2 separate regions of the Homo sapiens genome follow, and region 2 is linked to region 1. The links are contacts of gene promoters, found by promoter capture Hi-C in human tissues and cell types (Jung and others, 2019). All regions are on one chromosome and are shown on one strand. The core of a region is centred on a gene start or on the middle of the fragment in contact, and the rest is flanking DNA. Distances in the headings are between cores, read along the strand shown. Region 1 holds the start of CFL2 (cofilin 2). Region 2 overlaps RALGAPA1 (Ral GTPase activating protein catalytic subunit alpha 1).

Region 1 (5,371 bases), core at 1,205-3,704:
CTTTAGTGTTGCAGGACTCACATGGTAAACATAAAACTCCTACACTTATTCAGTAGTGTACACTCAATGGAAAACAAAAAGGCATTAATAACAGCTATTTCTTTTAAGAAGATATGCAGGTAACAGGAATGAACACTGAGGTACTAGGATAAGTTGATGACACAGTTAACAAAACTTAATTGGCATTCCTTTTAGGATATTAAACTTATTACAAAAAGTGCTTTTAATGCATAGTGTTATATCCGTGCTGCCATATCACTAAAATAGGCTTGCCAAGGCAGGTGAGGTGTATGAATGCTCAAGCCTCACAGAACTGCAATCAAGTGCCAACTATAAATAATACTGAAAAAAGTTGACCATCTGACCAGTGGATAATACTTTCAAGGCATTCAATTAGCTTATCCTTTGCAGTATTCTAAGCTATTCACATTGACGATCACATACATTGTAGTGCTTGCTGCAAGGGAGGCATATAACCAGTTGTTTTGGCTAAAATATGACAGGAAGGCATTCCTTGGGTTCTATATAAAAGTAACAGTATTCAACAGTCTAATGGCAATCACTGATAGGCTGCTTAAATAAATGATATTTCCTTCATTCATTGTGTTGGAAGGGCCCAGTGGAAAGGGGGAAATACAACAAAAAACCAAAACCTAATACTATTCCAATGGACTGAGCTGGAGAAATGGAAGCTCCTTAAGATCCAGATGGCACTTGACTGTCATTTTATAATGGTTTTCCTTCAAGTGAAACTACTACATTGCCTCCCAATTTCTCTCCAAGTGTCGAACGGTCCTTAATATCATCCAAGCCATTTACTTGCCACTCATGTTTAATACCTAAAAAGAAAAAACATTATCCTATTACTTTATTATAATTAATAAAGAATAATTTCTCTGCCCCAAATATTCAAGTTTGTACCTGTAAATTTCTTTTTAATGGCATCTTTAGAGCTAGCATAAATCATCTTGCTTTTTAAAGGTGCACTTTCAGGAGCCCTACAGAAAAAAAAAAAATTATTGAATCCCATTTATAAGAAAAACAAAGGTAAGACTGACTATGATAATAATAATCCTTGCATTTTAAAAGTACTTTTTTCTTTTGTTTTTACACACCAGAATATAAATACTAGGTCTTCTTTCTTAGACTCTTTTGTTTCGTATGTGGCATCGTACAAAGCATATCGGCAATCATTCAGAGGTAGCAACTTCACAAAAGATGTGTAGGGGTCCTCTACAGTATCACCAATGTCACCCACCAAGATCTGCTTTGCTTCCTCTACAATTATTTGTCTTTTGTCATCGCTTAAACAGAAGAGAACTGCTTTCTTTCTCTTTTTGATCTCCTCTTGTGTAGAAGATTTCCTTACTTTCATATCATTAAAAACTTTGATGACTTCATCATTCACTGTAACTCCAGAAGCCTGAAAATAAACACAGAACAGTAATTCAGAACACGTATTTTGGTTTTAACCAAAATTACTGTTTGCCTAGAGAAGACTCACTTTAGTCTGGACATCAAAAATTGCACCGTACCATGTAAGTCGTCCAATCAGATTTGTCACATTTTAAGAATCAGTAGACGATACAGCGAAGGAGTCTAACTCATCCTGCCCATTCATCCTTCTTAAAGGGGTTTGGACGTGGAAGCGAAAGGGACAAATACAAGTTGTCCCATCCCTGAAATGTTTCCTATTTCACTGGGTGATGTCAGAGCTTCAGGAGTGGCAGCAAAAATACCTTCTGTATTGTGTCAACTCGGCTGGCCTTAAAAAAACACTTTTGGATTTCAGTTAATGCTTCTACTATTTTTTTCTTTAAAGTCATCCTAGCCACTGACGTTTCCTCATAAGGAAAGAGAATCAAGTGTAAACTCCAAACCGCCCACGGCCCACACACAGCTCACATGCAGACACTCCAAAACTAACTGATCGAGTGTAAAAGCTTTTACGGCGAGAAAGCATTTTAAAAAGTGTTTTCCCTCTTCCTTAATCTCCCCGTAAGGGTTTTATTACAGGCCGTCCAGACCCTGACCCACACAGCGTTCGCAGCACGTACCAATTTTAAAGCCTCGCGTGTTAAGTAAAATTAGGAAGCGAAGGGCAAAGGCGGCGCGAGCGGCTGCAGTCCGCAGACCCTCTCGCGCCCCCGCCCGCCCGGCCCCGACCCCCAACCTGCGCCGACGCCCGGGCCCTCCCCGCCCCCCAAAATCCAAAGAGCAGCAGGGCAGGGCCTGACGGCCGGAGGGCAGGCCGGTCGGCTGGAGAGCAGCGGAGCCGCAGAGCAGAAGCGCCCACCTTGGAGGCCAAAATCAGGTTAAAATGGCGGCCTCACTCCCGGGGCCGTGCGGGGGGCTTTTCTCGCCTCGCCGCGGCCTCCCGGCCAGCGCGCTCGTCTTACCATAGTGCCCTCGGCTGTGGCTGCGGCGGCAGCTCGGGCTTCGGCTCTGTGGCACTGGGAGGAGAAGGAGGGGCGGGCGAGCGGGTGGGCAGCGGAGAGTGCGGGGCACGCCGGGAGCTGCAGCCCGAGGGAGGTGGCGGGGCTCGGCGGGCCGCAGGCAGCGGGCGGGGCGGTCACGTGGGCACGCCTGGTCCCCAGCCGGCGCCACCCGCTCCCAGGCCGGCCCTTCTGTCTCGCGGCCCCGGCTCCCCGGCTGTCCGCGTCCTCGGCCTGACCTCAGAGCGCGAGCCCTGCAGGCCGGGGGGGGCGACGCGGTGGTAGCGGAGCCCGGGAGCCTGGCAGAGCCGCCTCCAGCCCCCGAGCATCACCCGTCAAGCCGGTGGGAGAGAGTGCTGGGCTCCCAGAGGGGCGTTTCCACCGCCTCCGTAGGGCCCTGCGCCAGGGGTGGGTGCGTGTGAGGGGAACTCCTGCGAAGGTGTCTTTCCTTATTTACCTGTGGTTTTCCCGAAAGAGGCTGGATTTCGACATTTTGAGTCTTTTTGGAAAACCCCCAGTTGTTTAGAGATAAATGAGAATAAATACTACACGAGATTGCTCCAGTTGATAGTACTTAGCAAAAACAAAATGATACGCAGTGTTGGTAAATCACTTTTCAAAACTCTGGTTGAAATAATAATTATGATTAAAAAATTACGTGGTAGCATTCCTTAGTAATATCCTTTTACATTTTAGACTTCATAGGAAATGGATTGTACTCTCTCTTAGAGATTTCATGAAGCTCCAGCTATGACAGCTGATATCAAATAAGCCGACGCAGCCTCTTCTAGCAAAGCCCATATAACTGCGCCAAGGCAGTTTCTCTTTTTTTAATCTTAACTCCTCCATACCTCAGGGTTCTTCATGTGTAAAACAAACTGTTATTAAATTATCGTTAAGGCCCTTTCCAGCTTTAGATTTCAGTTTCTGAGTATATCAATGTTCAGTAGGAAATGGTGTGTTTTTGGTGGTCTCAGGATTGAGGTTAGGCAGGAAAGTCATGAGATGGTGTTTGCCCTAGATTGCGTGATAAGTTCTTTCAGCCCAAATTTACTGTATTTTAAATGGAACATGCTAGGCATTGAAACAGACCTATTTTTCTGTCTATATCTTGGGTTTGTTTTCTTAATTGGAAGATAGACTTCGTTTAGAGACAAAAATTGAGAAGGGATTTCCCAATGTCTAAGCATGAATCCCAAGCAAGTGGATAATACTTTATATCTAGCTGGTACATTACAATTTATGGAACCTTTCACTTTATCTGTTGAACTTCCAAGAAGTCATGGAGAATGTCTCTCCAGAGCTCTGATCATCTGCTATGTGTAGGTATTAGCAAATTCCTGTTCGCTTCATCTTGCGGTTACCTTCCCTTCCCAACCTCAGAGATTTGCAGCAGCCCCAGCAGAGACCAGGTCTGATGACACTGGGGCCTAAAGTGGGTGTCAGAACCTTACCCACCAAAGCTGGGGATTCCAAAGATGCTAGTCACCCCCTAGCTCGGACTCCAACCCCTTTCCATGCCTCCCATTCTCTCTTACCCTCCCCAAACAGAGATGGTAATTCACATGTTCTAAGATTCTTTTCCTGAAGTTATTTTTGTCTTGCATATATTTTGTTACATTATAATAACTTGTTTATGTCTTCTGCCACCCTACTGCGCTGTAAGCTCCTTAAGGATCTGAGTCCTGGTTATCTTTGAATTTCTGGAACCTGACAGATAGTAGGTGCTTAATAGGTGCTGAAATAATACATTTAAGATGCTTTAGTGCTGTAAAGAGAATGAAAAGGAAGCTTCTGAAAATTGTGAAGCCTTTCTACATGCCCTTGTGAGCATGGCACTGAGAATGTCAGGGCCAGTAGCAGCTTCCTGCCTTCACCTCTGTGAGTTATAACCAGAACTTACCACCACTTGGTAAAGGGGCAGCATTGCCAATCATTGCTGCATGAATTTTGGTCACTGTGTAGTGGAGGGGGATCTGAGTGTCAGATACCACATGTATTAGCGTTCGACTGTTGCTATAACAAATTACCATAAAATTACTTGTTTAAAACAACACAAATTTATTATTTATGGTCTTACAGAGTCAGAGAAACAAGTCTCTCTCTCTATATATATATATTTAAGAGATAGTCTCTGGTTCTGTTGCCCACCCAGGTTGCTGGAGTGCAGGATGTGATCATAGCTCACTGCAGCCTCATACTCCTGGCCTCAAGTGAGCCTCCTGCCTCAGCCTCCCGAGTAGTTGGGATTACAGGCATGAACCACCACAACTAGCAGAAATAAGCCTGATGGGGCTAAAGTCAAGAGACTGTAGTGGGAGACTCCTTTGCCTTTTCCAACATCTAGAGGCTGCCCATCATTTTTTTTTTTTTTTTTTGAGATGGAGTCTCACTCTGTCACCCAGGCTGGAGTGCAGTGGTGCTATCTCGGCTCACTGCAAACTCCGCCTCCTGGGTTCACACCATTCTCCTGCCTTAGCCTCCTGAGTAGCTGGGACTACAGGCACCCGCCACCATGCCCGGCTAATTTTTTGTATTTTTAGTAGAGATGGGGTTTCACCGTGTTAGCGAGGATGGTCTTGATCTCCTGACCTTGTGATCCGCCCACCTTGGCCTCCCAAAGTGCTGGGATTACAGGTGCGAGCCACCACACTCGACCTGCCCATCATCTTTGGCCTGTGGCCCCAGGCAGCAGTCGCATCACTCTGACCTCTGCCTCAGTCATCACATTTCCTCTGACTCTCTCTCTCCTGCCTCCGTCTTCCACTTATAAGGACCATTATGGTTACTTTGGACCCCACTTGGTAGTTTAGGATAATTCCCCCTCTCAAGATCCTTAACTTAATCACATCTGCAAAGTCTGTTTTTTCGTACAAGTTAACATTCAAAGACTTTGGAGGTTAGGACAGGAACACCTTTGTGAGGAGGGGTTGCAT
Region 2 (5,070 bases), core at 46-2,545, 1.0 Mb after region 1:
AAACCTATTCAAAAGCTGAGGAACTGGAAGTGATAATGTGGAGAATGCTCCCGTCTCCGCAACCACAAATTAAGTAGTGACCTTAAGGAGCTATCTGAAGAACACTCATCTACACAATATAGTTCTACCCAGATGGAATCCAATCAAATCCATCTTTATAATATGGAGAATAACTATATCAAATCAATCAAATCCATCTTTATAATATGTTGAGTAACTACATATTGAGAATCATACCAATCTCAATTTCAGAAATTATATGACATCTTAATTAATAGATCACAAAGAAGCCTGGGCAACACAGCAAGCCTTGTCTCTCAAAAAAAAAAAAAAATTAGCTGGGTGTGGTGGCACATGCCTATAGTCTCAGCTACTCAGGAGGCTGAGGTGGGCGAATCACTTAAGCCTAGGAGTTTGAGTCTGCAGTGAGCTTGATAATTAATCAAGGGCCATTACTCTATTGTTTCTTTCCACTCTTTTCATTATGCAGTTTTTTAATCTTTTTTTGTCTGTACTGCAAGTTAAACCAATTCTATTATTATCCTTACCTTGCCTCCTTCTCTTAGATGCTTATTATTAAAACCATAAAACTACCTTATTTACACTGATACTTCAAAACTTGATTCAACCACATATGAAAAAGAGGCTAAAGGGACTTTCAGTTGGGTGTATCAGCCCAATTCTCTATCACAGCCTCCTCCCCTCTGGTTATTTTGCAAGTCCATTCCAGGCATAGCGATACGTGGAACAGTCACTGTGAGAAATGTGGCAGGGGCGGCAACAGATCCTAGATCTAGATGTCATGGTTCTTCTGAGAAGTCAGAGTAGAATCAAACAGAAAACTATCACTACATTAAAAATATCCTGGACGTATTAGCAAACAAATGCATGCATTTATTCACGGAATAAAAATCAAAGGTGCCACATTTGTAACCTTATGCTTCTAGCTTAGCTACATGAAATAAAAAGCTATTTGAAATCAACTACAAATGCAATAAAGCATAGATTTTCCAAATAAATCTTATTTGCTGTCAAACCATAACTCACTCATAAATCATACAATATTTTCACTTTGTAATACAATAAAAATGATTTTAATTAATAAAGTTTTATAAATTCTGGCCAGGTGTGGTGGCTCACACCTGTAATCCCAGTACTTTGGGAGGTGGTCAAGGCAGGTGGATCGCTTCAGCCCAGGAGCTCAAGAACAGCCTGGGCAACAAGGCGAAACATCTCTCTCTATATAAAAATTCAATGTAAAATATATGAAAAACCTCCCAAAATGCTATTACTTCAAGGGAAGTTTAAAAATTAAGAAAAAAATTCTAAAATTGTTTTCTACATAGCAAGTCAGTCACTATAATCTGGCTCATCAATGATTCAAAGTATACAGAAAGAAAAAAAAGGACTAACAAGATAATTGTCCAATGTAGTTATTGGCTAATAATAACTTGGGCTCTGAAGTCAGAAAAACCGTAGTTCAAATCTCTGTCCACTGCTTAACAGCTGTGTGAACAAGGACAAGTTACTTAACTTCCCAGTATTATCTGTATCATAGGGTGCTGTAAGAATTAAGTAAGAAAATATGTGTAAAGTGCTTAGAAAGCTATGTGGCACAAATAAGTGTCCCAAATGTGTTAATAATAATAACTACATCTATATGCCATTCTATTAATACTGTTAGTAAAGAATCTTTTCAAAATATAAAGCCATTTTATACATAAATTAGGCATATGCTTTGACTAAGTAGTCTTCTTTCTTAAAAAAAATTAGGAGTACTTAGTCAAAGCATATACCTAATTTATGTTTTGCCACATGTAGAGGAAAATAAAATACATATAAGAATGTTCATTGTCCTCTCTTTGCCTCAAAACAGAGAGAAATAACTACATGTCCATCAGTACAGGACTGGTTAAGAAAATTATGGCATATATATATATATATATATATATATATATATATATAGTATAATACTATATAACTGTGTGTGTGGTTTGATGAGCTAGATATTCACCAAAGGACAAACATCACTACTATCTCTAGAGAGTGAACCTTTGAGCTTTTTTCTTTTTTAAACTTTTCTTTGTTTGAATTTTATGATAAACATTTCATTTTTACAAAAACTGCAGAACCACTTTCCCATCTCCCCAAAAGGTCTATTTTTCCAATCAATTAGACAACTATTTATAGAGCACCAATGATATATAATGTACTATACTAAGAAATGTAGGAAATATAAAAATAAGAAAACCAGTAAATACCTTCTAGGGGTTCTCAGTTCTATGGTGGTAAACAGATATTTACACAAGTATTTTAGGGATCAAGACAGTTTTCACAAGAACTATACAGAAGTACAAATATAGAATGGAAACAAGTGAAGAAAAAATTTAAGTAAGGATATGTAGAAACAGGAAGGTGAATCTAAGGGACAGTTACGGTGACAACAGGAAAAACAGCAGAATTAGACATTCTAAAGGAAAGTTCAGAAGGTGCCCAGGGAAGAACAACTTGATAAAGCTGGGAAGCAGGATCTTATCCTGAAAGCTGGAGGTTAGACTTCAGACAGGAAAAGTAGGCAGGGCCTGACGGTATACAGCTCTGAATGCCAGATTAAGGATTCAGGCATTCACATATTCAGTCAATCATCAACTTATTCATTAACTCATTCACACACAAGTAAACTTCATTTACTCATATACATTTGTATGCATGTATTCTTTCCTTAGGGGTTGAGGAGGATGAGGCCATTATATGCTCACTTCAGGAAGACAGTCCAAGGGGTCTTGCGGAAGTCCGAACAAAGTTTCAGATAAGCTGAAAGGAACTATTGCCACTATGATTAATTTTATATTTATTCAATAATAGGAGCCTCTATAATACTGTAAACAAACCCTCTTCACAGACACTATTTCTCTAAAAATTACTATACCTGTGTACACAATAAAAACACATAGACATAAAGGATAAAAATTTTTTTACCAAGTCTTTTTGTCCATTGATACTTGTACAACCATGTACCGATAAATGTTAAGAATGCGTTTACACATATCTGTGTGTTCATCCAGAAGATTTTTTATTTCATTTGCAGGTTCAAGAAGAAATATATTTGATGAGTTTATAATAAACACCTAAGACAAAAGAAATCATTAGCTATTCACAAAGGAATTTCAATGGCAAATTTCTTATTCAAAGAGAAACAGACACTGATCACACTGTGGGTAAATTCTACAAGCTTAATAACTGAAACATAAACTCATTAAACCTACCTATTTTTATGTTTACCTAGACAAATATAAAGTTAATAGTAGGTACCCAAAGAAAATAAACCAAGTGCAAACAACAGTATTTCTTTCTTTTTTTTTTTTTTCGAGACAGAGTCTTGTTTAGTCACCCAGGCTGGAATGCAGCGGTATGATTTCGGCTCACTGCAACCTCTGCCTCCTAGGTTCAACAGATTCTCTTGCCTCAGCCTCCCAAGTAGCTGGGATTACAGGCATGTGTGCCACCATGCCAGGCTAATTTTTGTATTTTTACTAGAGGTAGGGTTTCACTATACTGGCCAGGCTGGTCTCAAACTCCTGGCCTCAAGTGATCTGCCCACCTTGGCTTCCCAAATTGCTGCGATTACAGGTGTGAGCCACTGCACCTGGCCTAAAACACAGTACTTCTAAACTGAGAAGCTTTAATAACTCTATTGCTATAATAAATTGAAAAAAAAATAAATACACATAGTTTAGAATAAAAGATGACACCTAAATCAGGAAGAATTTTCTGAATGAGTTGTTCAAAACATTTTATCCTCTTTTTCTTATTTATTTTTATGTTTGTATATCTGTTTTGGTGACAGAAGATTCCATTAGAAAAATTACTATATCCCATCAAAATATTAAAATGGAAAAAACTGATTATCACTATGTATGCAGAAAAAGCATTCAACACTTATGACTGAAAACAATTTTTAGCAAACTAAGAAAAAAGCACACATTCATTGAAATAAAAAAGAGCATTTATAAAAAAGTATAAAAAAAAGTATATACATAGTAATAGAACTTGAGAAATACCACAAAAAGCCAAGAATAAGACAAGGGTGCTCACTCTCATCCCATGGATCTGAGGGGCCCAGTAAGCATAAAAGGAAGAGTGGGTGGTAGAGAATAAGTATCAGCAAACTGAAAAGGAAAAGACAAATGGAGCTACGTTCCTGTCTAGGAGAATAGTATTTCAGAAAAAGAGGAAAATCAAGTTTAAAGGACCTGAGGTGAGAGCCTGCCTAACATGCTTGAGGAACGGCAAGGAGTACAGAGTGAAGTAAACCAGGGGAAAAGCAGTGGAAGATGATGCTGAAAAACAGCCAGAGTATGTGGAGCAGAGATTCTCACACTACCTGTAGTGAAAGAACAGGTCTTCCCCAGCCCCAAACTTTTGCAGATCAATCCTATTTTAAAATACAATGAAAAATGAACAGAGATTGGGAGAGAGATCATCATGGCTGACGGGAAGCAGAACTAAATTGCAGCTCCGACTTGGACAGACAGAGCAGCGTGTGGAGGCTCATATCATGAATTTTACCTCCAGAACAACTGCAAGAACAAACACCAGGAATCCCAAAAGGACCCACAGACCTCTGAAGGAAGCAAACTGCTCCTGCAGGACCCAGGAGACACTCCAAATGCTGTGAGTGCCCAAACGGCAGAAGTGGGAAATGGAGATCCTTCTCTCCCGAAAACACACACCCATTGGGGAAACTGAAGGTCTAGTTTGTGGGAGAAATTTCCGACCTTACCTGGAGCGGAGTAAATTTAGAGAGCCGAGGGAAATACAGGGGTAGAGGAAGCAGTAGGAAATGCCCTGGGAGCTTGCTGGGTCCCCAGGCAGGCCATTCCTGCCTGGCACCACAGGGATCCTTTGGGAGGGTGGCCAGAGGCGTGTGGAAAATGCCACAGGGAGAAGGAAGTCTCCAGATGAACTTTGTAAAAATTTGAACCAGGCAAGAAGCCTCCTGGCCAGAACTCAAAGGAGGGTGTGAATCCGGTGTGCAGACTCCACAGGCAGGGGAAGAACCAAAGCCCA

Evidence for each region. Contacts are between HindIII fragments. The study calls those that stand out against the background at their distance.
Region 2: a fragment that was not itself captured here is called in contact with the fragment with the promoter of CFL2 in region 1 in 2 of the 25 tissues and cell types used here (dorsolateral prefrontal cortex and lymphoblastoid cells).

The regions. Positions count from the first base shown.
Region 1 is chr14:34,712,139-34,717,509 of GRCh38, forward strand. CFL2 (cofilin 2) reads right to left here and starts at 2,455. Exons shown (of 4, transcript NM_138638.5): 1 at 2,400-2,455; 2 at 1,116-1,423; 3 at 922-998; 4 at 1-839. The coding sequence starts at 2,402. The coding sequence ends at 727. RefSeq lists silencers at 2,152-2,211, 2,302-2,891. The HindIII fragment of the contact is 13,048 bases long and covers 1-5,371 here.
Region 2 is chr14:35,725,383-35,730,452 of GRCh38, forward strand. RALGAPA1 (Ral GTPase activating protein catalytic subunit alpha 1) reads right to left here. Exons shown (of 42, transcript NM_001346249.2): 13 at 2,980-3,128. Among named protein-coding and RNA genes, the nearest start is that of SNORA101B, 35 kb to the right of the region's middle. The HindIII fragment of the contact is 4,321 bases long and covers 1-3,456 here.